4 separate regions of the Homo sapiens genome follow, and all the other regions are linked to region 3. Evidence: promoter capture Hi-C in 16 types of primary human blood cells and fetal thymus (Javierre and others, 2016). All regions are on one chromosome and are shown on one strand. The core of a region is centred on a gene start or on the middle of the fragment in contact, and the rest is flanking DNA. Distances in the headings are between cores, read along the strand shown.

Region 1 (6,037 bases), core at 3,538-6,037, 350 kb after region 3:
AACATTGGATGGGCTTAACAGCAGGCTGAACACTGAATTAGTGAACTAGTGAGAAGACAGAATTAGTGAACTTGAAAAAAGATCAGTAGAAAATATTCAAACTGAAGCACAGAGAAAAAAATGGAAAAAACAAAAAAGACAAAACAATGGCTTCTAGAAGAAAACATAGGTAATAGCTTCTTGTCCTGGGAGTAGGCAAAGATGTCTTAAACAGAATGCCAAAGCACCATATATAGAAAGAAATTTGATAGACCTCATTAAAACTAAGAACTCTTGTTCATCAAAAGACTCGAGTGTGCTTCTAGAAGAAAACATAGGATAATCTTATCTATGTGGCCTTGGGTGGGCAAAATTTCTTAGGACACACAAAAGACTAAACATAAAAATGTATAAGATAAACTTCATCAAAATTAAAAACCTGTGCTTTTCAGAAGACTTCATTAAGAAAATGAAAAAGTAAGCCATAGAGGAGAAAATATTTGCAATACATATATCTGACCAAAGGCTCAGTTCAGAATATATTAAGTAATTCCTTCAGAATATATAAATCCCACAAACCAGTAACAAAAAGACAATCCAGTTTTTAAAATGTGACCCAGGGACTTGAAAAGACAATTCAAAAAGAAAGATAAATGGCAGATAAGTCCATGAAAAGGGATTCAGCATCATTTGGCATCAGGGAAATGCAAAGACTATTTCACTCCTACTCAAATGACTGATGTTTAAAAGACTGATCACACCAAATGTGGAGCATTGGAATGCTCAGGCATTGCTGAGAGAAGTATTAAAAACCATTTTGGCAGTTTCCTTTAAAATTAAACCCTATGACTCAGTGTTTGCACTCCTAGAAATGTACTCAAGAGAAGTGAGGGCAAGTGTCCACTAAACGGTACAAGAATGTTCATAGTGACATTCTAAATAATAGCCTGCAGACTGGTAACAGCCCAGATGCCCCTTTAAGAGGAGAAAGGATAGATAAATTGGGCTGTATTTATACAGTGGACTGCTACATACTATACAACATTTAAAAACAATGAACTGATAAGGCAACAGCATGGACAGATTTCACAGATACTATGTTGAACAAAAAAAGTGAGACACAAAATACTTATGTACTGTGTGATTCCATTTATATGAAGGTCAAGAGCATGCCAAACTCTTCTGATAAAGAAGCCAGAATAGTGGTTACCTCTAGGAAATGAAGATTGGTAAAAGGAGCTTGAGGGAACCCTCTGGGGTGCTAGAAATGTATTTTCACCTAGATAGTGATTACATGGGTGTGAAAATTCACTGGATATTTAGGATTAGTGTATTTTACATATGTGTGTTGTGCCTCAATAAAACAGGAAAAAAATTACTTGAGGTCAGTTTTTATTGTGGAATAGCCATAAACTGTTCACAGCAAACTAGTAAATAATGTAGGTCATATTGGATGGTATCATCTTAAGGCAAAGTAACTGGATGTGACTGTAAATTTACACAGATTTTGTTGATGAGGTTCATAACTCAAAGCACTTACAAAAGTAATTTAACACATCATTGGAGTAAGTTAGTAGCTTTCCAAGGTGACTACTTTGGGAATCTTTTTAAAAATTGTTTGACCTTAAATCTTATTTACCTTTATGCTTATAGCTATCAATAGATTTCTAACAATGTGTACAGAAATTTTTAAAAATAGAACTTTATTACAAGTTGAGTATATTCACTATTTTATTAAATTAGGAAGTGTGGACAAAAAAAATCAAAATCAACTATTTTTTTTTAAATTTAAATCCCATCACCAGAGGTAAAAGTAACCTTTGATAGTATATATATATATTCTTTTCTCTATACATTTATGCAAACTTGCATTTGATGACATCATATTTTGCAGGTTTTTTTTTTCTGTGTAATTTATTGTCATCTTACGTCAGATTATGTATTTTACAGTTGCATAGTATTCCATTGTAGGTACAGCTAAAAAATGCTATGGTTTATTTAATACTTATTGTTGGACATCTGAATTTATATGGCTTTTTAATTTCTTTTTTTAGTATTTTAAGTTTTTATTATTTCTTTTTAAAAAGACCATTAATGTACCATTAGTTTTGAAAAAATTAGATGTATGTCCAATGATGTACGAAGGATTTTTTATTTTTAAACTTTTAAATCTTTGTAACTTTTCTAAAAACAAGTAGGATTTTTTCTAATACATATTGTTTAAAAAGTATGACACAACAAGTAAAAAAGAAATTGCTTGTAATTTCAGTCTCCATAGAATAACACTGTTAACATTTTAATGATTCTGCTTTCAGCATCAGCTTCACCTGAGAACTTGTTCAAAATGCAGATTTTCAGCCTCTACCCCAGGCTTACTGAATCGACAGTCTATGTTTTAACAAGGTCTTCAGGTGATTCTGATCCATGCTGACGCTTGAGAACACTACTGTAGGCTTTGGAGAAGAATCTTACAAAGAGAGACCTGATCGGCCGGGCGCGGTGGCTCACGCCTGTAATCCCAGCACTTTGGGAGGCTGACGCGGGCGGATGGTGATGTCAGGAGATCGAGACCATCCTGGCTAACACGGTGAAACCCCGTCTCTACTATACTAAAAAAAAAAAAAAAAAATTAGCCGGGCGTGGTGGCGGGAGCCTGTAGTCCCAGCTACTGGGGAGGCTGAGGCAGGAGAATGGCGTGAACTTGGGAGGCGGAGCTTTCAGTGAGCCGAGATTGCGCCACTGCTCTCCAGCCTGGGCGACAGAGCGAGACTCCGTCTCAAAAAAAAAAAAAAAAAAGAGACCTGATCACAGCTGTGCCTTAAAAAGGCTGCTCTGACAGCTCTGTGCAAGGTTGAGCCACTTGGGAAATTATTTTCATAGTTTAGGTAGGGTTAATAACAAGATAGTGGCAGTAAGAATATGAAAGAGATAGCTGTAAGAGAGCTAATAGAGGTAGAATCACCAGAAATCCATAACTGGGAATGTGAAGGAAGAGGTGCTAAGGATTTGAGCTGGAGGAGAAAGAGAAGGCTAATGCCATTTAACTGAGAGAATACAAGGCAAAGAATAGGCTTTATTGGTACAAAATGTTAGTTCAGTTCTGGACATTTAGATGTATGGTACCTGTCATACAGATGTAAAGCATCCATCAGTTGGTTGGAAAAGTGAGTCTGAAGTTTGCAAGTGAAGTTAGGATTCGAGACATGTCATTGGAAATTAACTGCTCAAGGGTAGTTGTTGAATTGTGAGACCGGAAGCCTGAGAAATAAGGATAAGATTAAAAAAGGATTATTGAAGGACTAAAACAGTAGCAATGGATGGAAAGAGAATTGGAATCCTGGAAAAATCACAGGTAGTCTCCAATGAGAGTTCTTAAATGGAAGAGATGGTGCCCTGAAGTTTATAGTAGACATTTTGATGGGCATATTCAAATTCAGTAAAGGAAGTTATCACTGAGCAAATTTGTTTTCTATTCCACAAATGTAAAACACTCTGGAATATTTTGAAAATAATACAGTCACCTTCATGCCCCCACATCTACTTACCAAAGCCTTTCAAACTCCAACATAGTCTATTATTTTGAAGGTCAGATACTAAGGCTATTTATTAAAAGGAATTCTGGGGTTTGGGGGCGATTTCTTTGTTTCTGTTTTTTTAGCTGAGGTCTCACTCTGTCCCCCAGGCTGGAGTGCAGTGGTGAGACTGTGGCTCACTGCAGCCTCAAACTTCTGGGCTCAAGTGATTCTCCTGCCTCAGCCTCCCAAGTAGCTGGGACTACAGGCACATGCCACCACTCATGGTTTTTGTTTGTTTGTTTTTTTAATTTTGTAGGGACAGAGTCTCGCTATGTTGTTCAGGCTGGTCTCAAACTCCTGGACTCAAGTGACCTTCCTGCCTTAGCCTCCCAAAGCGTTGAGGTTACAGGCATGAGCCACCATGAATGCTTACAATGTCACTGTCAAGATAAATCAGTGAAACCGTCTTTGCTCCAGTCACTCACTTTTTGACAGGTTTTCCTTTTAATGTATTTACAGATTACTTTTCTTATAGGGGAACGTTCCATTTAGTTACAAAGTTGCAAATGTTCAAATATTTTGTCTTGCATTCAGGAAACCTGATTGGCCAAAGAACTATGCTAGGAGCTAGAATGGAATGCCTCAGTAAATGGAAAATAATATAAATTATTATTAAGTAGCATGCAATAAGAGCCAAAGTTCACAAATGTAATGGCAGAAAAACTGGTAGAAAATGAAAATTTCCAACATTCTTTGAGAAAAAATGATCAAGAAAGGGATTACATGGGAAAGAAGAAAAGCATCAAAAGTCAAGAAGTAGTGAACATACAGTCATTTGAATGTATGCTAATTGTAAATTAGTATACTAGCAGAATATACTTAAATGTGGTATATAAAAGCTTGAATGTTGAAGTTGTTAAATAGATTATGTGTTAATTTGGTGTTTTTTATGGTCATGTTGGTGCACGCTTAAGAGACATGGATTCTAAACACATAAGTAGCTTTTGTAACTTGAGCAAGTCTCTGGGTCTCACTTGTTTTATCTGAAAAATGAGAATAATTTGCATTGTTGGTTTTTAGGTTTGAAATAATGAATGTATCTTAAATGTGTTTCTAATACCTTGCACAGAGACTCCCCATAATCACCATTATCTCAAAATATCACTATTATTATTTGGCCATGATTTATTTATTAATAATGAATAATAGGTAATATATATAAGGTGCGTGCTTTGAGAGTGATCTGAATTTTTTTCTCAGCATACTTAAATGTCAAGAAATACAGAATCATGTCTTGAAGTTATTTAGAATTTCATGTTAATATATTGTGTTCTTTTTAACAGGAAGTACTTAAACAACTACAAGGAAGTATTGAAGATGAAGCTATGGCTTCTTCTGGACAGATTGATTTATTAGAGCGTCTTAAAGGTAGATTTTAAAAAGGTGTTTTAAAATAATTTTTTAAGCTCAAATTGTCATCTTTAGGTGTGTAGATCCAAGTACAGCTTCTCTCGATTTGGGTGTTGGTATCAGTTTTCTTGGTATGTTAGCCTTACCCTCAGGATGTAATTGTTAAAGTACAAATAAATAAAAAATGTATTTGTGTGTCATTTCTTCAGTTAAACATTTAACTGGCTTTGAATGAACTATTTTAAATCCCTCCCTTAAATAATTTTCGGCTCTTTGTAAAGCTTGTTGCTATTCTGCCAGTCACTAAATAGGGCTTTAGTATTCTATATGCCATAGACTTGAGCCTACTGTTTCATTGGAAGAAGTATTGTCTTCTTCATTCAGGATAGAAATACTTTAACCTTTTCACATATATAAGTTGATTATAATTCATTTTTAGCAGTTTTAAAAGGATATCTTTCTCATTCTGTTGCTTGAAAATTCCAGTGTCAGAACAGAGAAAGTGCTTGATAATAATTGAAGCCAGACAGAGAAATTACTTTTGGATTCTAAAATATTATTTAGAGGAAGTCTAAGGAAGTACATTTTATCTAATTTTCCTTTAACACACTCCTTATTTTTACCCTGACCCAAGTGGACTTTTCAGGGAAAGTCCTAAATAATTTTTGTTTTCAGTCATGTATATTTGTGGTTAAAATGTAAACCTAATATTTCACTTTAAAATAATATAACATTAAGAATATTTTAGACTGCTTAAAGCAATTGTTGTATAAAAACTTGTTTCTATTTTATTTAGAGCTTAACTTAGATAGCAGTAATTTCCCTGGAGTAAAACTGCGGTCAAAAATGTCCCTCCGTTCTTATGGAAGCCGGGAAGGATCTGTATCAAGCCGTTCTGGAGAGTGCAGTCCTGTTCCTATGGGTTCATTTCCAAGAAGAGGGTTTGTAAATGGAAGCAGAGAAAGTACTGGATATTTAGAAGAACTTGAGAAAGAGAGGTAACTTTTCTTCATATAGTAAACATTGCCTTGTGTACTCCAGTTTATTGTTATTTTGTAATATAATATTTAAATTGTGAATTTATAGTAGGTGATAGCTAACACTTAGAGCATTTTGCATTTTTAAACTCAAAG
Region 2 (5,595 bases), core at 1-2,500, 260 kb before region 3:
GTACATTCGTAGTGTTGCTCTGTCTGTAGCTATTAAGGTGAGTTAATAAATGGGATAGCCTCCACAGCTTATTTTTGGGAAGGTTTTGCTGATACTTCCTGAGAAGCCCAGGGAAATAAATACGCATAGTACTGGCATTCTGCATCTCTTTAAGATTTGTTTTTATGTGTAGTAATTGAGTTTTTTAAAAGCTTGTGAAATCGCAGGCATATTACCAAGTTCTTGATTAAAATGTAATACAAAAATATTTGCTGTCGAATTGAGTACTTTATTTTTTCTCTTAGGATGTCCTTGGTGAGGATTTTGAAAATTTGATCTTCACAAGAGTTGCCTGGATCATTTGAAATTTCTGGGAGTCTGAGGAGTACTGACATAATTACCTGCTGGAGTCTGTAAATACACATTTAAGACAGTGAGGATGTGAATAAATATATTAATGCACTTTGGCATTTGTGTTTTAAGTGATTAACTGCCAGAAACAGCTATTTCTAAAAAGTTATAAGGGAGGAGGGGTTCTTTTTTGATCAGTATTCACTGCTGTCACCATAATTAATAGCCTTAAAATAGCTTGTGTTTGGCCCAAAGAGAAATGTACTTTCTTCCAGTGACTCAAAAATCGTGGCTAGAACTAGACTGATTTCTAGTGACAGGTGTGCTTTACTGCACTCAATGCGTATTTTTCCTCCAACTAAATTGTACATTTAATGTTGCCATATCTTCTGCCTTTGCTTTGCAGGAAACGACAAATAATGTATAGAGGTATTCAAAAAATTTATTGAAAGCACTGTACTAGGAGCTGAGAACACGATGATGAGCACAACACAGTTCTTCCCTTTGGAAACATAGATAAGTGGAGGGAATGTCATCACAAATGTAAAACTTCACTATGAGATGAGTTCCGTGATAGGATTTTCTTAGGGAAACCTGAGAAAGAGTTGAGACTAAAGGTATGTGTCATATTTTTCACAAGGCAAAACTGGGGGAATGACATATACAGAGGCTTGGGCTAGAAAAAAGATACCGTTAGTCCACTTACTTTTGAGACAGTTTTGGCTGCTTTCCCTCTTCAGTGCCCTGTTTTAGAACTGAGTCCTTACTGAGGCTTGTAAGATGGCTATTATGGGAGGTGAGAGTGTTACAAAATGAGGCTGAAGAGGTAGGTAAAGAAGCCAGACCACTTCAGGCTCCCTCTGGCTTTATTAAAGCAAGATAAATCCATGGTGGAAAATCAGATTTGCAAGAAAAGGTAGTTGAACTAGGTTGCTTATTGTTGTCTAGACAAGAGACCAGCTTGGACTAGTAAAATTAGTGAAATAAGATCGTTTATAGTTGGATGACAGAGCCAACTAGACGTGGTAATAGTGGAGGTGTCCATAACTGCTAGGTGTCCAGCTTGCACACTGATGAGCATAATGACCCTAGATTCAGCTGGGGAGCAGCATTTAAACAGCTGAATTTTTAAATTACCTTTGAGAAACCCAAATGGTCTTTTTGCAGTAGCACATTACTCAGTAGTCTAAACTACAGAAATAAACCTTAAGGCCATGGGTATAAATGAGATCTGCTGGTGGTAGAGGAAGAGGGCCTAGGGTCTGAAGTTTGAGAAACTCCACTAATTAATGGCAAGGTAAAGCATGATAAGCCAGAAAGGATGGTCAGTGGTAGGAGCAAAATAGGATTATATTAAAGAAGCAAAAGAATGTCCTAAAAATTCTCCCTGGGATTAAGTAACACAGTGATTGATATTAGTGGAGTAGAGGGAAAGATCCATGTTAGAGATAGCTTAAGATAGGGATTAGATGAATTGAGGGCAATGACTAAAGATACTGCTTGCAAGAAAACTGGCTGAGAATGAGAGGAAAATCTTAGTTGCTTGGCGGGAGGGGGTTTGTGGTTGTGAAAGATAGTTTTGTTTAATCTTAGTCTTAAATTTAAAACCAAGTAGCAAGGATCTAGCTGAGAGAATAATTGAATACATTAATATAGGAGGACAGACAAAGATCCTGAAAAGGCTGGGAGAAGAGCATCCAAAGCACAGGTGGAGAGACAAAAAGGTTAGGGCTGCTGGCAGCTGTGGAGAGAACTGTACGTGGTAAGGGGGAGATATAAGATGTCCTGCATAAGTATTTTCCCTGTAGATTGCAAAGTCATCTATGGAGAGGAAAGGTACAAAATAGTCACTGGGGAGAGCAGGTGAATTAGATGGCCAAGCAGGGTGGATGGATCATTTGAGGTTTGGGGTGACAGATCAACTGAGATCCACTTACACTTCTGAAAACGCAAGAACACTTTAGAAATTAACAACACTTAAAGCTTTTTACATCATTTGTAAATAACTGGTGGAACTTAACACCACAAAATAAAGTATTATAAAGAACTTTATATGAATAAAAATATATGCAGTCTGAAAGTGATGCCTCAGTCCTTTTGCATCTGGGCACTAGTTGAGAACCAGCCCAGCCCTGGGAAGACGTCCTCCCACTTGTACTATTGCACAGCAGGCTAGCTGCAGTTCAGAATTCCAGAATGTTCATCAGATGCATCTGGTCTTGGTTGTGGTGGACACAGACACAAGATAGAAATGAATGATTGCTATCCTGTTCCAGAAATGAAAATGTGGTATCAAGTGAATTTTTACAAAATACTTATTCTTCCAGTTAAAACAAAAAGGTCCTTCAGCACAACTGTGCTGTAGTTAAACCATGGCCTATAATCCCAGCACTTTGGGAGGCTGAGGCAGGCGGATCACTTGAGGTCAGGAGTTCGAGACCAGCCTCCAACATGGCAAAGCCCTGTCTCTACTAAAAATACAAAAAGAATTAGCCGGGTGTTGTGGTGCACGCCTGTAATCCCAGCTGCTCGGGAGCCTGAGACAGGAGAATCGCTTAACCCAGTAAGTGGAGGCTGCGGTGAGCTGACACGGTGCCGCTGCACTCCAGCCTGGGCGACAGAGTGATAACATCTCAAAAAAAAAAAAAAAAAGAAGCAAAAGATAATGTATTTTCTCATGCTGAAGAAATACTTGCAGGTCTGAGATTTGAATTAAGATACCTATTTCACAGTTTCAAAAGTACCAGTGGCGCACACAACCTTCCCACCCCTACCCTTGACCCTTCATCAGGATCAAGTCTCTGTCTTGAGGCGGGAAGCTTGTATAGTTTTTATTGTTTTTGCTGTGTGTTTTCCAGCCAGGTTGTTTGTAGATGTCTGAGGTTTTTCTTCCATCAGGCTATCTTTAGACCCATTTCTTCTCTAAAATATATTTGAAAAATGTAGAAAGATTCAGAAGAAAACAGCCAAATGAAGTATTTTAATTACATCAGAAACCAAGCTGCTCTTAAATTTAAGATACTGAGTTAATTCAAAAGTTTCATAATACCAAAAGCTATTCAATAAATGTTCCCTCTAAATAGCTGTGCAAAATAAAGTTTGTATTTAAACTTTAATATACAAAGTTAGTCTGACATTTACATGCATAACGATTTTATTCATGAATATTAGGCATAATTCACCCAAATCAGTGTCATTACTTTTGTTAACAATTCCCAAACCAGGCTCTCAACCTCACTCTTCCAAACAGGATAGTGATGGAGACTTGGAGGCAATTTATAATCCCCTGATTATATTTTCAGTAGTCAATGAATGGAACAATGTCTTGTGAGCCCCTATCACTTGTCTCATACGGAGAAACAGGGCAGCTCATTACCAGAGCCTGGGCACCACATCCACTAGTTTGTAAAACTTAGGTTTTACACATCTCCCATCATCACTGGTGGAGGCTCTGAGAATGACACTAACTCACAACTACTACTTCTTATGCGAACCCCTCCTCCTCTTACTTCCAAGGATGGTCTAACATTGTCAGTGTATCAGGCTGGCAAGCATATTTCCTTCCCCAAATGTATATTCCCATAAATAATGGGCTATACCGTCCCAATCTATTTTGAGATTTGTTTGAGCTAAAAATAAATAAATCCCTCTTAAAATGCAGCTACCTTTAATCTGTTCCTATGACTGGCTTAATTTGTTTTACTGACATTCAAAAAGCACTGATGGAATAATTATTCTGCCTATCATGGGAAGCATGAACCCATCTATTTGGGATGGAAGATTTCTAGATAGCCAGAGGTGGGAAGAGAACACCAGTGAATGTGAGAGGAGAATACAGCAGAAGAATTACCAGAAAAAAAGTGCTAGGAGAGGACCTGAAATAAGTACTATGTTGTAAGTTTGTCTAGGATTGAATCTGTCCACTCTGCAGACCTTAAGAAATTAAGTTGCTATTCTTCCCCATTCTTAGCAGCCTTTGCGTGAAAAGGCAAGGTGAGGTGTAAGGCAGGTCACTGCCAGAACTCTGGTGGCATTGTGGTGGAAATTAGAACTTAAAGTTGTACCTTAAAAATGTACCTTTCCAGCTTCCACTGGTCACTCCAGCCCCTTCTCCGCTTGGCAGCCAGATGAGTGGCTTCCTTTTAGCACTTGGAATAAAACAGTAAGATCCAAACGCTTCCCACAGCCTTTAAGTCCCTGTGTTATCTGCCTTTCCCCTCAAGCTCACTGCATGTTGGTCTTTCAGCTCCTCAAATACCCAGGCCCTCTCCAGAGTCAGCATTTTCCCTACATTCCTCACTCTGATTACATCAGCCTTGCAGCCACTCACATGGCTAGCTCCTCACCTGCCAGGTCTCAGCTTTAAATGCCACTCTCTGAGATGGCCTCTGACCACCCTAAACATGTAAAGTGAGGTCACTTTGTTGCTTCTCTAGCTCAGGCATTTCTTTGTAATGCATACTCCTATTTGTTTTAACTGTTTACTTTTATGCCTCCAGGTCTAGGCTAGGGTCATCAAACTTTTTTATAAAGAGCCAGACTGTAAACTACATCCTGTTTGTGTCACGTGTTACTGTTATTTTGTTTTGCTTTTAAACAACCCTTTAAAGGTGTAAAAACCATTACTGGCTTCTGGGCTGTACAAAGGCAGCAGACTAGATTTGGCCCTTAGGCCATGGTTTGCTGATTGCTCAGACCAGTGCTCAACACTCCTTAGATGGGCTCACTGGATATTTACTGAATTCAAAATCAAGAGTGTCCTGGAGACAGGCTTAGAATCAGTGCCACTGATCAGAAGATGCATGTGAGTTCTTGTATCCCGCAAAGTGAAAGCTATTCTTCCAACTTAGAATATGTGTAAGTTTTTTTAATTCCTGAGTGGAAATAAAAATTACTACTTGTATTGAAACCAACTAAAATTTAAGACAAAAAAAAAAAAAAAAACACCGAAAGATAACTGCTTATTAATCATCACAATAACCCTAGGAGGTAGGTTATCTACACTGTATAAAAATTGAGGCTTAGAAGTTTAGCAGTATTAAAGTTACACAAGTAGTACACAGAGATGAAACACAAATGATTCAGGTCAGTCAGAATGCAAAGCCTAAACTTAATCATGAATATAATTTTGAAAAAGTACTGTCAACTTTAAACCAATCGTCTATTTGGACAACCTATTAGCTCTCCCAGGCTGATCTCATCAAATATTATGCAGATTATAGTAGAAGCTGCGTTTACCATGCAGATCGCCATTCTAGACTGAGG
Region 3 (6,283 bases), core at 2,437-4,936:
AGCCACATTCAAGTTTTGCTAAGAGAACAAAAAGAAAGTTATCTACCTCCCTCAGCACAGAGAACTAGAAAGGATACAACAAAAGTTTCCCAGAACATTACTCAAACAACTGAGACCAACCATACCAAATATCCTTACTTGAATAAACAACAGATAGCAGCAAAAGACAAACAGCTAAAAGCTATTGTAGGGCTCAACACACAACCAATAGCTCTCAGCTTATGTAAACTTGAGTTTTTAAATCTCGGATAAGGTTCAAACTGTGAACTGCATGAATAAGACTTTCTGCTATCAAGGTGAGGTTGCCCCTAAAGCAAGTAAAAAAGGCAAATACCTCCGTAACATTAACAGGGATGCAAAGATACTGTGTTTTATTTTTCTGGTATTTTTTTTTTAACAGAAAATTATTTTCCATTTAAATGGAAATTAAATGGAAATAAAATTATTTTCCATTTAACTGATATTCATCTTACCATATAAGATGAGTAACTGTTGTCTTCAGGCTGAAACACTTTTCATGATGACACATTAATTTTTTTTCTAACATCGATGAAAAACTTTATCTAAGTTGAAGAAAAATCACTTCAAAACTAACTTTTCTATTTGTAATTTGGTGCTTAAATAAATCCAAAGAATGTTTTTCAAAATGATACACAGAAAAAATGTTTACCAAGATTCTCTCATATTTCTTCCACCTTAACTTGCTATAATTAATCTTTTCTAATTCACAGTGCATTACTGTAACAATAATACAAGCAAATTCTCAAGTAACCATTTAGGAATCAGTAAAATTATTTCTACTAAGAGATGAAATGTGTGCATAATTTTAATGTAAAATTAGCCATCTTCATCTAAGATAGAATAGGAAAAAGGATAATCACAAAATAAATGTTAGGAAATGCTTTTGAAAAATAGAGATTTTTCTAGTTAATTTCAGAGAACAGTAGGCTAATTGATGTTGCCTGCTTAATTTTGACTTTAATTAGTGGTAATCAAAATTACTAAGTATACTATCTCAAGGAAAAACACCATAATGGTAGCTACTGGCTATTAACTTTGAAGTAACTGTTTACTTTTTCATTTACAAACTAAAGTAGGAGTTAATTTTAAGTAATTAATGCAACACACATCAATTGTACCTATGCACCATAATACAGGAAGGTTAGGAAAAAGTTTTTTAAAATGTCAAGTATGTACAGAACATAAACATGTTCATCCAATGTTTGAATACCTCTACATGCAAGTTTTTTTATACACACCATTTATAAATATGCAAATATATTTAATTTAGTACACGCCAAGGGTGGGTAGGTGTTTAACACATACACTTTTAAGGTAGCATAGAAGATAATGTGATTAGCTTTAGCAGACAACATCTGTGTTACACACATGGCCATCAAAATAATTGTGGCATGCTTTTGTGACAAGGACAGAGGCCAAGCCTGTTGTTAAATGATTATTTCCAACAACAGCCTGCTTAAATTATTGTTTAGTTATATGGCCCATATCCAAAGTAACAGTATTACATAGTTGCTGTTGCCTTTGAATCACTCACCAATTTTCAGCCCATTTGTAAAACAAGATAAGCACCACTGGATTATAAAAAATAATTATGGATCAGGATTTTTGATTCATGTTTCTTTGACAAAATTATTCCATTTGATCCCAAGTCCTGGCTGCTCTCTTGACAGAATAATGTACACGCTCTACAGCTGATAGGCATGACTTTGATGATTAAATAGGAAGCTCACATTCCAGATGACTTTAGACTCCAGATAATTTAGACTTTGCACTTCAAAAAGATTTCTTTACTGTCTTAGTATCTGATCATCAGTTACCTTTTTCTAATTGTTTCTATCTCGACACAAGAATCTATATATTATCTACAATTTAGGATGTTTTTGTGATTTTTGCCTATTTTATTCATACAGTACACCAAAGAATGTTACATCATCTTGTAAGTTACAATATTTTCCTGATTTCATTGGGCGGGTGAGAGGAGAAATATTTTGGAACATAAAGAAAAGTTAAAAATACAAAATGTACACCCTCCCCGAAAAGAGTCTATTTTATTGGTCTTGAAAGGAAATACCGAATGAGAATCGAACTGAATTTTGCTCAGTATAATTACTGGGGAAACAATATTCAAAACAACCTCCTAAAGGAAAGGGTTAACAATCTTGTAGCTTTAACTGATTATTTTTGCTCCTTTCTCCCGCAAAAGAATTACACCTATGAAACTGGAATTCTGTACACTAAGAATGGCAACATTAACGCTGAAACTTTTAGCCAGGAATAGTTATCCTAGTGTGCATAAAACTATGTAAAAACTGATTCACAAAAGGAAATGCCCAGGGCCTACCCCATTATGATTAACTTCTGAGATGAAGCGACTAAGAGAGGATACTTGGCAGCCTGAACTCGATTTCTCAGAAAGCCAGCTCTATCAGAGCGGGGGCGGGGGGGCGGTTTCCCTTCACCAGACTCAGCTGTTGCCTTATCTAAAATGCCTTAGCGATCTAAAACTGAAAGAGAAAGATAAACAAAACAACAAAACGCTCCGGATTTAGATCTCCTTTAGGTAGTTAACACTGTTGCAAAAGCAAAACAAGCACGCAGGCGCGTCGGTCAGGTTGTCACTACAAACATACGTACCTTCTCATCCAATGTAAGGAAGAGGATCTCTGCGAGCTCTGCTGCCTTTTTGTTTGGGCTCTCTAGGTTAATGTAGTGATTGCATTTTAATGACCCACAAACAGGAGCAAAGTTATTACTGGGTCGCTTTGAGAGATGTTTACTTAAATGTGAGGATAAACCCAGGTCGCTGTAGAAAGGGAAAATATTTTCCGTCCAAACGTAGCATTACCCAACTACGAACCCACGCAAAACAATCACAATGACCCATTAATGCGTTTCAACGAGTGAACTAGTTCACTTCCCTAATAACACTGTCAAGGAAAACGCCTTCAACAAAGTCGAGGGAAACCATGCCTTCCACACTGGTGGGACGCAGCTGGTATAACCCATTCTGCCCCTCTTTGAGAGCTGCGGGGCACCCAGAGGCTTTTGGAGAAAACCGGTTTGGGGAAGAGTTTTGGGGTGCTGCTGGGAGCCGGTGTGCTGAGTAAACTTAGAAACGTCAAACTCAACTTTGCTTTATGAAGGAACTCAAAGTTAACTCACCCTGGTACGTCCACCCTCTCCCTGCGCGCAGGGGACAGCGGCCTCTCCTCCCCACCGCGCAGAGTCGCGGCCGCCGCCCTCGACCCACCGGTGACAGCCCTCAAAGCGATGGACCCCCGCACCCGCCCTGCCGCCAACCCCCGGAACGCGCTCCGGGCCGCACCCACCTTGATGCCCTGCTGCTGGGTGGTAAGGGTTAACTTGGATTCATCCAGGAGCAAAACTTCGCAGTAAAATTCTTCCGGAACAGCGCAGAAACAGCCCATGTCGGTTGTGGTCGTCTCCAGCCAGGAGAGAAAGCTACCACCGAGGCGCCCAGCCGCCCCCTCCACTCAAGCGCGATGCATTAATTTATTGTCCGCGCCGTGGCGAGGGTGAGACGAGCAGCTCCCGGCGGGGTCCGGGGACCGGCCGCCGAACCGCCCGGCGGGGCGGGAGCGAGAAAGGCGGAAAAGCCCGGGAGAGTCAGCGCCCGGGAGCCGCCGGGGAAGCGCCGGCGGAACTGGGCGCGGAGGGCGGTGGCGCGTCCCCGCGCATCCTGCGGCTCGAGCTCCTCCGAAGGCGGGGGCGCGGGGCCCCTCCCGCAGTCCTGGGGACGACAAAAGTCTCCTGGCACTGGGGGCAAGAGACCAGAAAAAGGAGTGATGGGAATTCGAGGCTCTCCCCGGCCTTGGAAAACCCTGGAAGCGCTGCACCTCCCTCCTGCCGCACGGATTTGAGCGCGGCCCCGACGTCCTGGCGTCCGATCGGCCTGCGGAGTCCCCCGCGGGCGCGCACTTCCAGCCGCGACCCCGCCCCGCAGCCCCGGGTCAGATCCGCCGAGTATGAAGCGCTCGGCTTTTCTTTTGTGTGAGGAGCACCCACGACGCCCCGACCATGGGCGCAGGGGCAGAGGCGAAGGTCGTCGCTCCGTCCGCTACCCCGTCCCCCAGCCGCAAGCGCCGAGGAGCCGGAAGAGAGGCGGAAAGGGCAGCAGGCTCCTTACCCAGACCAGCGAGGGGAGGTCAGCTCGTCGCGGGGTGTGGCTCCCGTCCGGGGACTCCCGAGCTCATTACGGGTGGCCGTGTGTAGCCAAGTTCAAGCTCTCCCTCCGGGAATGCCTGCCGCGGCGGCGGAATACGGCTTCTTCAGGACATTCAGCAAAGCGGGGAGGCGGGGACCTGCGGGCGGAGGAGCGACGCCCCAGCTGGGAACGCGGCGGACGGGCGAGCGGGGGGTGCGCCCTGGGCGCGCCAGGCCGCAGAGGCTCCGGGGAAAGTTCTCTTGGCCGCGCGAGTGGTGGCGCCCCGGGCGGGAGCAGCCCAGGTGCATGTGGGCCCGGTCCAGGCGTCTGCAAAAAGCCCTGGAACGAAGCGGACCCCCCAGTCCAGCGCTGGCCGCGGCAGGGGAGCCCCTTCTGGGCGGGGTATCAGCTGGGGGCGGAGGGCGGGGCAGAGACCGTGGTCCCAGCGGCGAGGTGCCGGCGAGTCCACGCTGCCAAGCCGCACACTGCGCCCAAGCCGCGGGGCAGTCCAGCGCTCGCTGCGTCCTTCCCCCGAGAGACCTGGAGGCTGGGTGGGGAGAAGAGGACGCGGTGCTGCTCGGACCCCACGGTTCGGCGGTCCCAATCCCACGCCCTCCGCGCGGTCGGCCGCGTCCAGGACTGAGGGGCACAATAGCTCTGAAGCTGCAGTGACCCCTGGTGGGTCCCGATGTCCGTGCACAGGCAGCCGAGGTTGAGCTGCGGACGACACTGAGCCCCGCTGGGCTTCGGAGCAGGTGCAATCTGTGCTCTCCAGCTGGGAACCAGCAGCGAGTTAATGCGAGTCGCAGTTAGGGGAGACACGAGGGGAGGTGTCACAGAAAAAAAACTCTATATTGAGTTTTAGAGTTAGAGCTTTGGCATCAGACGTAGTTTTGAGTTGACTATTCTACTGCTTGTTAGCTGGGTAGCCAAAGCTCAAAAAAAATTGCTTAAAACCTAGGACGTTAGCCCTTAAAACAAAACCAGGCTTCCGTAGCACAGTAGAAATGAAATGAACAATTGGCGACTTTTGATGGAGTTTCCTCTCATAGTGATTTGCCACAAAGGACCTTCTGTAGGAAGCCTCGGCCTTCCCTGCTATTGTGACCCCATCCAAACACAGGATCAGCATAACCGCCAAAGTGCAATATAAATTTCTGAACTTTACCTAGGCTATGAATAAAACTATTTTATCTTCTGAATTTTCTGTGAAATTGACTCAGGTTTTGAATTTCTGATCAAATTTCGTGTCCAGCTTTGTTTTATTGTCAAAGTCTTGCCTGCCTTATGAGGTGACACCTTATTATGCTAGATTTTAGCATTTCTGCTTGTAGAGGCTTTTCTTTTCTGTAATACAGTATTCCTGACAGGAGTTACCAAATGTGATTGAAAGATGGCTTAACATTTTCATTCTTTACCTCCATATCCAACCGAGACACTTGAGGCTGCAAAAACAAAAGGTTCAAGCAATCATCTGTTCCCAGTTTTTTTGAGTTTTGCTCTCACCTGTTTTTTGGCCCTTTGATTTGGTTTTTTTGCTTTCTGATTTTTGGTTTTGCTGTTGTTTGTTTTTGTTTTTTTACCTCCAGTGGCAGTGAGAAGGCTGAGGGTTTTGGATGGGCAGGGATTCTGTTCCCAGCTCCTCATAAGGTAAGTTACAAAGCCATAAGGTCCCATACATATGACACTCTTTCCTGAGTGAAGCATTTTCTTTTCCATTTCTTTATCGGAGACTGGAGAAAAGAACATTTAAAATCTATTTAACACAAAATTAGAGATTACTAGTGACAAGAGGATTCCACAGAGTTTCTAAGGATAGCTTTATTGCATATAATTTACATACAGTTCACTGCATAATTTTTAAGTGTACAATTTGATAAGTTTTGACATAAGTGTGCACCCATGAACCCACCACCATAATCAAGCTAGTACACATATTCATCCCTCCCTAAGGTTTCCTCCTGCACTTTGTCATCTTTCTTTTTTTTTTTTTTTTTTTTGAGACAGAGTCGCGCTCTATCAGAGTGCAGTGGCGCGATCTCGGCTCACTACAACCTCCACCTGCCGGGTTGGAGCAATTCTCCTGCCTCAGCCTCC
Region 4 (5,810 bases), core at 1,774-4,273, 320 kb after region 3:
TGAAAATAAGAGATATGTTTGTCAGTGCGGTCTTTAAACAGTGTTACACAATTTATTTCTGTTTCATTTTGATCAGAAAAAATATATATATCTTTTGAGACATGGTCTCTGTTGCACAGGCTGGAGTACAATGGCGAGATCTCGGCTCACTGCAACCTCTGCCTCCTGGGTTCAAGTGATCCTCCCACCTCAGCCTCTAGAGTAGCTAGGACCACAGGCGCGTGTCACCACAGCTGGCTAATTTTTTTGTATTCTTGGTAGAAATGAGGTTTCGCCATGTTGCCCATGCTGGTCTCCAACTCCTGAGCTCAAGTGAACTGGCCACCTCGGCCTCCCAAATTCCTGGGATTATAGGCATGAGCCACTGCACCCTGCCCAGAAAATATTTTTAATGCATACATATATATATATATATATGTATATGTAGTGTAAATAACATCTTCAATCAAATAGAGATGGCAGGAGCTTTATTCTGAGCTATGTGCAAACTTGATAAGACAAGGTAATGCTTCAGTAATTTTCCATGCTGAAATTTGGCCCAGTATACTTTGATTATATATCTATATTTAATTATAGTTTTAAAATAGCTAAGCAGTTTTAAAAATTCAAATTAAACTTTTGTGGAATCTCTAAAAATAAGAAAAATATTACTGAGTAATTGGCAACATAAAATACAAAATGTTTAACTTGGCTTTCTTTTAGATTTGAAGCATAGTGACTAATGAACATATAATGGTCGTAGCTTTCTTTACAACTATGTCATTTAAGTCACTGATGAATATCTATGATACATGCAGTAAAAATTTAGACAAACATTTTGGCTACAAACTGGTTTACTAAATAATAGCTTGTATCATAGTCTGAGTCAAGAGTAATAGGCTTACAATTGTGTCTTAGGGTACTAAGAAGTTCTTTTGAGGACCTTTTAAAAGGTATTCTTTGTTTTGAAAGACTGTTTTCCTTCTGGAAGTTCTAGGCCTTATGAGAAATTACCTATTCTGAATTTGTCACAAAAAATGACTTGTAAATAAGTCCTGTGCAGTGAATCATGTGCTTTCAGTAAGAGGATTTTGAAAGCCTTTTGTAAAATGAAGTCATTCTCAAAAGAGAGTTATTTAGAATATAATCAAATTGATTTACATGCTTTTATTTATTTCAAATATGAAGGGAAATTGTTTCTAAATATATTTAAACTTTTAATAGAACAGTAGTATGCCATCAGTGTGGAAATAACTCACTTGTTAAATAAATATTTGGGGTGTATTTGCTGTATATCAGGCATTGTAACACAGGGACTAATGAAAGAGAAAAAAAACAAAGCACGAAAGGACAGCAGAAATAGCTCCATAATCTCACTTTCCAGGAATAACCTCTATGGACATTTTGTTGTGTGTCTATTGCTTTTCTAATATATACATTTTTTAATCAAATGGAATTGCCTCAAATATGCTATTTAATAGCTTGCTTCTTTTCATACTATTTGAAAATTAAGAAACGATTATAATATGCTTCATTTAAAAACTTTAAGTTTAGGCCGGGCACAGTGGCTCACGCATGTAATCCCAGTACTTGGAGGGACCGAGGTGGGCGGATCACAAGGTCAGGAGATTGAGACCATCCTGGCCAGCATGGTGAAACCCCGTCTCTACTAAAAATACAAAACTTAGCTGGGCATGATGGCACGTGCCTGTAGTCCCAGCTACTTGGGAGGCTGAGGCAGGAGAATCGCTTGAACCCGGGAGGTGGAGGTTGCAGTGAGCGGAGATTGCACCACTGCACTCGCCTGGTGACAGAGCAAGACTCTATCTCAAAAAACAAACAAAGAAAACTTGAAGTATAGTATCCTTTTAAATTTTAAATAGATAATAGAAACTGGTTTCCCCCCATTTAAACCAGAATTTAAGTTTAACTTTATATATTCTTGACAGTTTGGATTTTGTCCTTCAACCTCATAAAATTGGGAATTTAAGCATCACCTGGTTCGATTTAAATGCAATGTAGAATTTGCATTAAAATACTACATTAAAGCCTCAGATTTGTAGTAGCTAACAGCACTTCTATGTATGTGTCAGGGACTGCTCTAAATACTTCATATATATTAACTCCTCTATTCTGTACTTCTGTTCCCGTTTTATACAGCAGGAAATTGAAACACTGAGAGGTTAAGTAACTAAAGTTACAGAGCTAGAGTGACAGGAGTAAAGCTTCAACTCAGGCAACCCAGACTTCCAGAGTTCTGATCTCCACTACTAAGCTGCTAGCATAGCTTTTCTGGTAACTATTTTTAATTCAAATATAATTCGAGTGATCTATCTAACAAGTCATCACTCTGACAACTCAGTGACTTGTAATGTAAAATTATTCATTGTAATTCATTTAATATTATTGTTTCTCTGTGCTGCAAAAATCATAGCAATCGAGATGTAATTTATTACTCTCCCTCCCACCTCCGGCATCTTGTGCTAATCCTTCTGCCCTGCGGACCTCCCCCGACTCTTTACTATGCGTGTCAACTGCCATCAACTTCCTTGCTTGCTGGGGACTGGGGCCGCGAGGGCATACCCCCGAGGGGTACGGGGCTAGGGCTAGGCAGGCTGTGCGGTTGGGCGGGGCCCTGTGCCCCACTGCGGAGTGCGGGTCGGGAAGCGGAGAGAGAAGCAGCTGTGTAATCCGCTGGATGCGGACCAGGGCGCTCCCCATTCCCGTCGGGAGCCCGCCGATTGGCTGGGTGTGGGCGCACGTGACCGACATGTGGCTGTATTGGTGCAGCCCGCCAGGGTGTCACTGGAGACAGAATGGAGGTGCTGCCGGACTCGGAAATGGGGTAGGTGCTGGAGCCACCATGGCCAGGCTTGCTGCGGGGGGAGGGGGGAAGGTGGTTTTCCCTCGCACTGTCTTAAACCGATGGCCTTTCCTTGGCACAGGGTCCACTGCAGCATGCCAAACGAGGAGGCAGGGGCGTCGTCCCCCCGCCCCCCACTGCAGCACTGGAGATGGATTTCCTGTACTTCGGATCCAGGGTTTTTGACAGAAGAGGAAGAAGGGGGAGGGGTAGAAGTGTTAAGGGGAGTCTGCTGAGAAAAGCTGTTTTTGAAGCCAGAAGGGGTTTTTGTTTTTATAATGCCATTTGACAGAGTGGAATAACAGTATCTAAGGAAACGGGTAGAGGACAACAAAGAATGGAGCATATTCATGGCGAGGAGCAAAAGCTCTACCCCATTGAAAGGCTTCTTTTCCTCCCTGGCGACAAGGACACATGCATTGGTGGCCAAAAGAGAGAGGAGACAAAACCGCTGCAGATGGCTGATGTGAATCTAGTGGAAAGAGCTACTGGGGATGAGAGAAAGAGGAGGAGGCAGGTACTGCAGAGCGTGAGTGGTGGTGTTGGTTGGTGAAATACTGGTCACCAGTAGTGTGCCTGCTTTTGTAAAACATCTAAGTAAACTCCCTGTGAACAGGGTGGCAAACAGATACCAGTGTCTTTGTTAGTTACAAAATGCAGTGGTAGTGGCTTTTTGCGGACGACTGCAGCAGTGCTTTTTCTCCCTCTGTTAGGCCGAAAAGACAACTGCAGAGGAATAAGAAACCTTGCAGCAAATGCTGGGGTAGAAGCCCATTTACAAGAAGCCATAGTTTATAAATGCAGCCTGAACAGCAGAAAAAAAATTACTGTTTTTTAAAGTAGGAATAATGTCAGGCTATGAATGTTTTGTCATTGGAATGTATTGGACACTTTGATTCTACATCACGAAAGTGATGCTCAAATTCTTTGATTTAACATAAATCCTATACGAAATCTTAATAAATTATGTATGAAACAGTGGATCTTTTCTTTTGTTAGTGAAGCTTTTATGCCATTAATTAGGTCATTCAAGAGCAAACCACTTTACAACGTAAATTACTTTGTCAAAAATTATGGTGAACAAATTTTTGTAGGCCTAATATTTAAGACCTATAGTTAAGTAATTTTATATTTCTCTTTGGTTGCTTTTAGATAACACTGAATAAATATTTAAGATATTAATTCAGTGTGCAAATATTTTAAATTAAAGCAACATGGCTTTTCTTCTAGATGTATTTCTGTTTAGTGAGTACTCATGAGATATACTCTTGATATAAAGTGTTTTTCATTGAGCTTTTTTTTCCTTTACCTAAATGTAAAAGCCTATCTTTATGCATACTTATAGTAGCCAGCCTGCCACACCTCCCCACTCCCTGAACAAGGATGGCAGTGGCTTTGTAAAGCCCTCCAGGGTCAGTGACAGTGTCTCTTAAATAATGTTTATGTAATAGAAAGTCTTAAGATGACCTATTATATTGTTTCAGTAATATTTTCAAGATAATGCGGAATTGGGCTGGCTTAGATAAATAAGACTACATAAGTTTTTCACTGATAAATTTAAATAGTTCTTTAAAAAATTATTTCTGCTTTAAGAATTACTTGATCATGGATATCAGGGTTAATAGTACTTAGGAGCCGGGCGTGGTGGCCCATGCCTGTAATACAAGCTAAACAGGAGGCTGAGGGAAGCTGAGGCAGGAGGATCACTTGAGCCTTGGCGTTCAAGACCAGCCTGGGCAACCAAGCAAGACCCTATCTCAAAAAAAAGTACTTAGAGTCTCTTTTTTAAAATCTGATGGAAACTATGGCTAGAACTAAAGATGTCACATTAAAATTCCAAATGACATTTAACAGCTAATATTACTCAGTTCTTTGAATTCCATTAGCATAGTGTTTGAGAGTCTATAAAACTATTATTTTTACATAAATTACCTTTTACCATTTTAACAGCTCATTGTAGCATTATTTTTATTTTAAATGTTAGAGACTCCTATTCAAGTATGTTGTGACTTTATCCAAGGTCAAATATTGTATAACAATGTAAAGAACTTAAGTCTTCTATTTTATTCTAATTCTATAAAACTATAATGCCTTTTATTACATACATACAAAATAATATATAACAGAGGTAATTTGAAAAACAGTGTAAGTCACTGACAAATTATTCAAAAAATGAAAAGGCAATCCTACTTGGTTGTGGATTTTTATCTACAATATAAGAATGCTTTAAAAAATACCTGGTGACTAAGCAAATGGAGAAGCAGCAGTTTTCATAATGACATTCATAAACGACTTTTTAAAGATCGTCTTATTAATCATATGAACACATTTAAGTAGAACAGTGTTAGATTGAGATGTTTTTCTGAATTAAATAAGAAATAAAGAACTAAAGTTTATTTCATTCCTCTTGTAGTATATCTAATCTATGACTGACCTATTGGCTTTAGTGGTCTTTGAAATTATTCACTGCTCTGATATGGCCTGAATTGTGCTGTTTAAGGAATTTAAAATTAAATATTCATAAATGTTTTATGAACTGAATTTAAGCTATTGAAGTTTTTGTTTTTTGTGTTTTTTTTTCTTTTTTTTTTTTTTTTTTTGAGACAGGGTCTCACTTTGTCAACCCAGGCTGGCGTGCAGTAGCAAACATGGCTCACTTGCAGCTTCAACCTCGCAGGCTCAAGTGATGCTCCCACTTCAGCCCTCCAGGTAGCAGGGACTACAGGCACATACCACCGTGCACAGCTAATTTTTATATTTTTTGTAGAGATGGGGTTTCACCATGTTGCCCAGGGTGGTCTCGAACTCGTGAGCTCAAATGATCCTCCCACCTCAGCCTCCCAAAGTGCTGGGATTTACAGGTGTGAGCCACCATGAAGTTTTTCCATTTGCATTAATTGCTCTGTAGATTTTACCATTTTTGTCTGTTTTATAAACTGTTACTCATTTTATGAAATTTAACCAATCT

Evidence for each region. Contacts are between HindIII fragments. The CHiCAGO score rates a contact against its expected background, and 5 or more counts as called.
Region 1: a fragment that was not itself captured here is called in contact with the fragment with the promoter of EPB41L4A in region 3 in 2 of 17 cell types (erythroblasts and total B cells); the score reaches 5.6 in erythroblasts.
Region 2: a contact is called between a fragment that was not itself captured here and the fragment with the promoter of EPB41L4A in region 3, in 2 of 17 cell types (endothelial precursors and erythroblasts). The highest score is 8.3, in endothelial precursors.
Region 4: a fragment that was not itself captured here is called in contact with the fragment with the promoter of EPB41L4A in region 3 in 1 of 17 cell types (total B cells); the score reaches 5.7 in total B cells.

What each region holds. Positions count from the first base shown.
Region 1 is chr5:112,761,489-112,767,525 of GRCh38, forward strand. It overlaps APC (APC regulator of Wnt signaling pathway), which reads left to right. Exons shown (of 16, transcript NM_000038.6): 3 at 4,838-4,922; 4 at 5,701-5,902. Among named protein-coding and RNA genes, the nearest start is that of APC, 27 kb to the left of the region's middle. The HindIII fragment of the contact is 792 bases long and covers 4,392-5,183 here.
Region 2 is chr5:112,161,867-112,167,461 of GRCh38, forward strand. EPB41L4A (erythrocyte membrane protein band 4.1 like 4A) reads right to left here. Exons shown (of 23, transcript NM_022140.5): 23 at 753-3,252. The coding sequence ends at 3,124. EPB41L4A-AS1 (EPB41L4A antisense RNA 1) reads left to right here. Exons shown (of 3, transcript NR_015370.2): 3 at 285-635. Among named protein-coding and RNA genes, the nearest start is that of SNORA13, 3.2 kb to the left of the region's middle. RefSeq lists enhancers at 3,598-4,275, 4,276-4,953. The HindIII fragment of the contact is 2,122 bases long and covers 190-2,311 here.
Region 3 is chr5:112,415,591-112,421,873 of GRCh38, forward strand. EPB41L4A (erythrocyte membrane protein band 4.1 like 4A) reads right to left here and starts at 3,687. Exons shown (of 23, transcript NM_022140.5): 1 at 3,351-3,687. The coding sequence starts at 3,449. EPB41L4A-DT (EPB41L4A divergent transcript) reads left to right here and starts at 3,993. Exons shown (of 1, transcript NR_027706.1): 1 at 3,993-5,388. RefSeq lists a silencer at 4,352-4,441. The HindIII fragment of the contact is 9,034 bases long and covers 1-6,283 here.
Region 4 is chr5:112,735,102-112,740,911 of GRCh38, forward strand. APC (APC regulator of Wnt signaling pathway) reads left to right here and starts at 2,784. Exons shown (of 16, transcript NM_000038.6): 1 at 2,784-2,824. The HindIII fragment of the contact is 1,642 bases long and covers 2,203-3,844 here.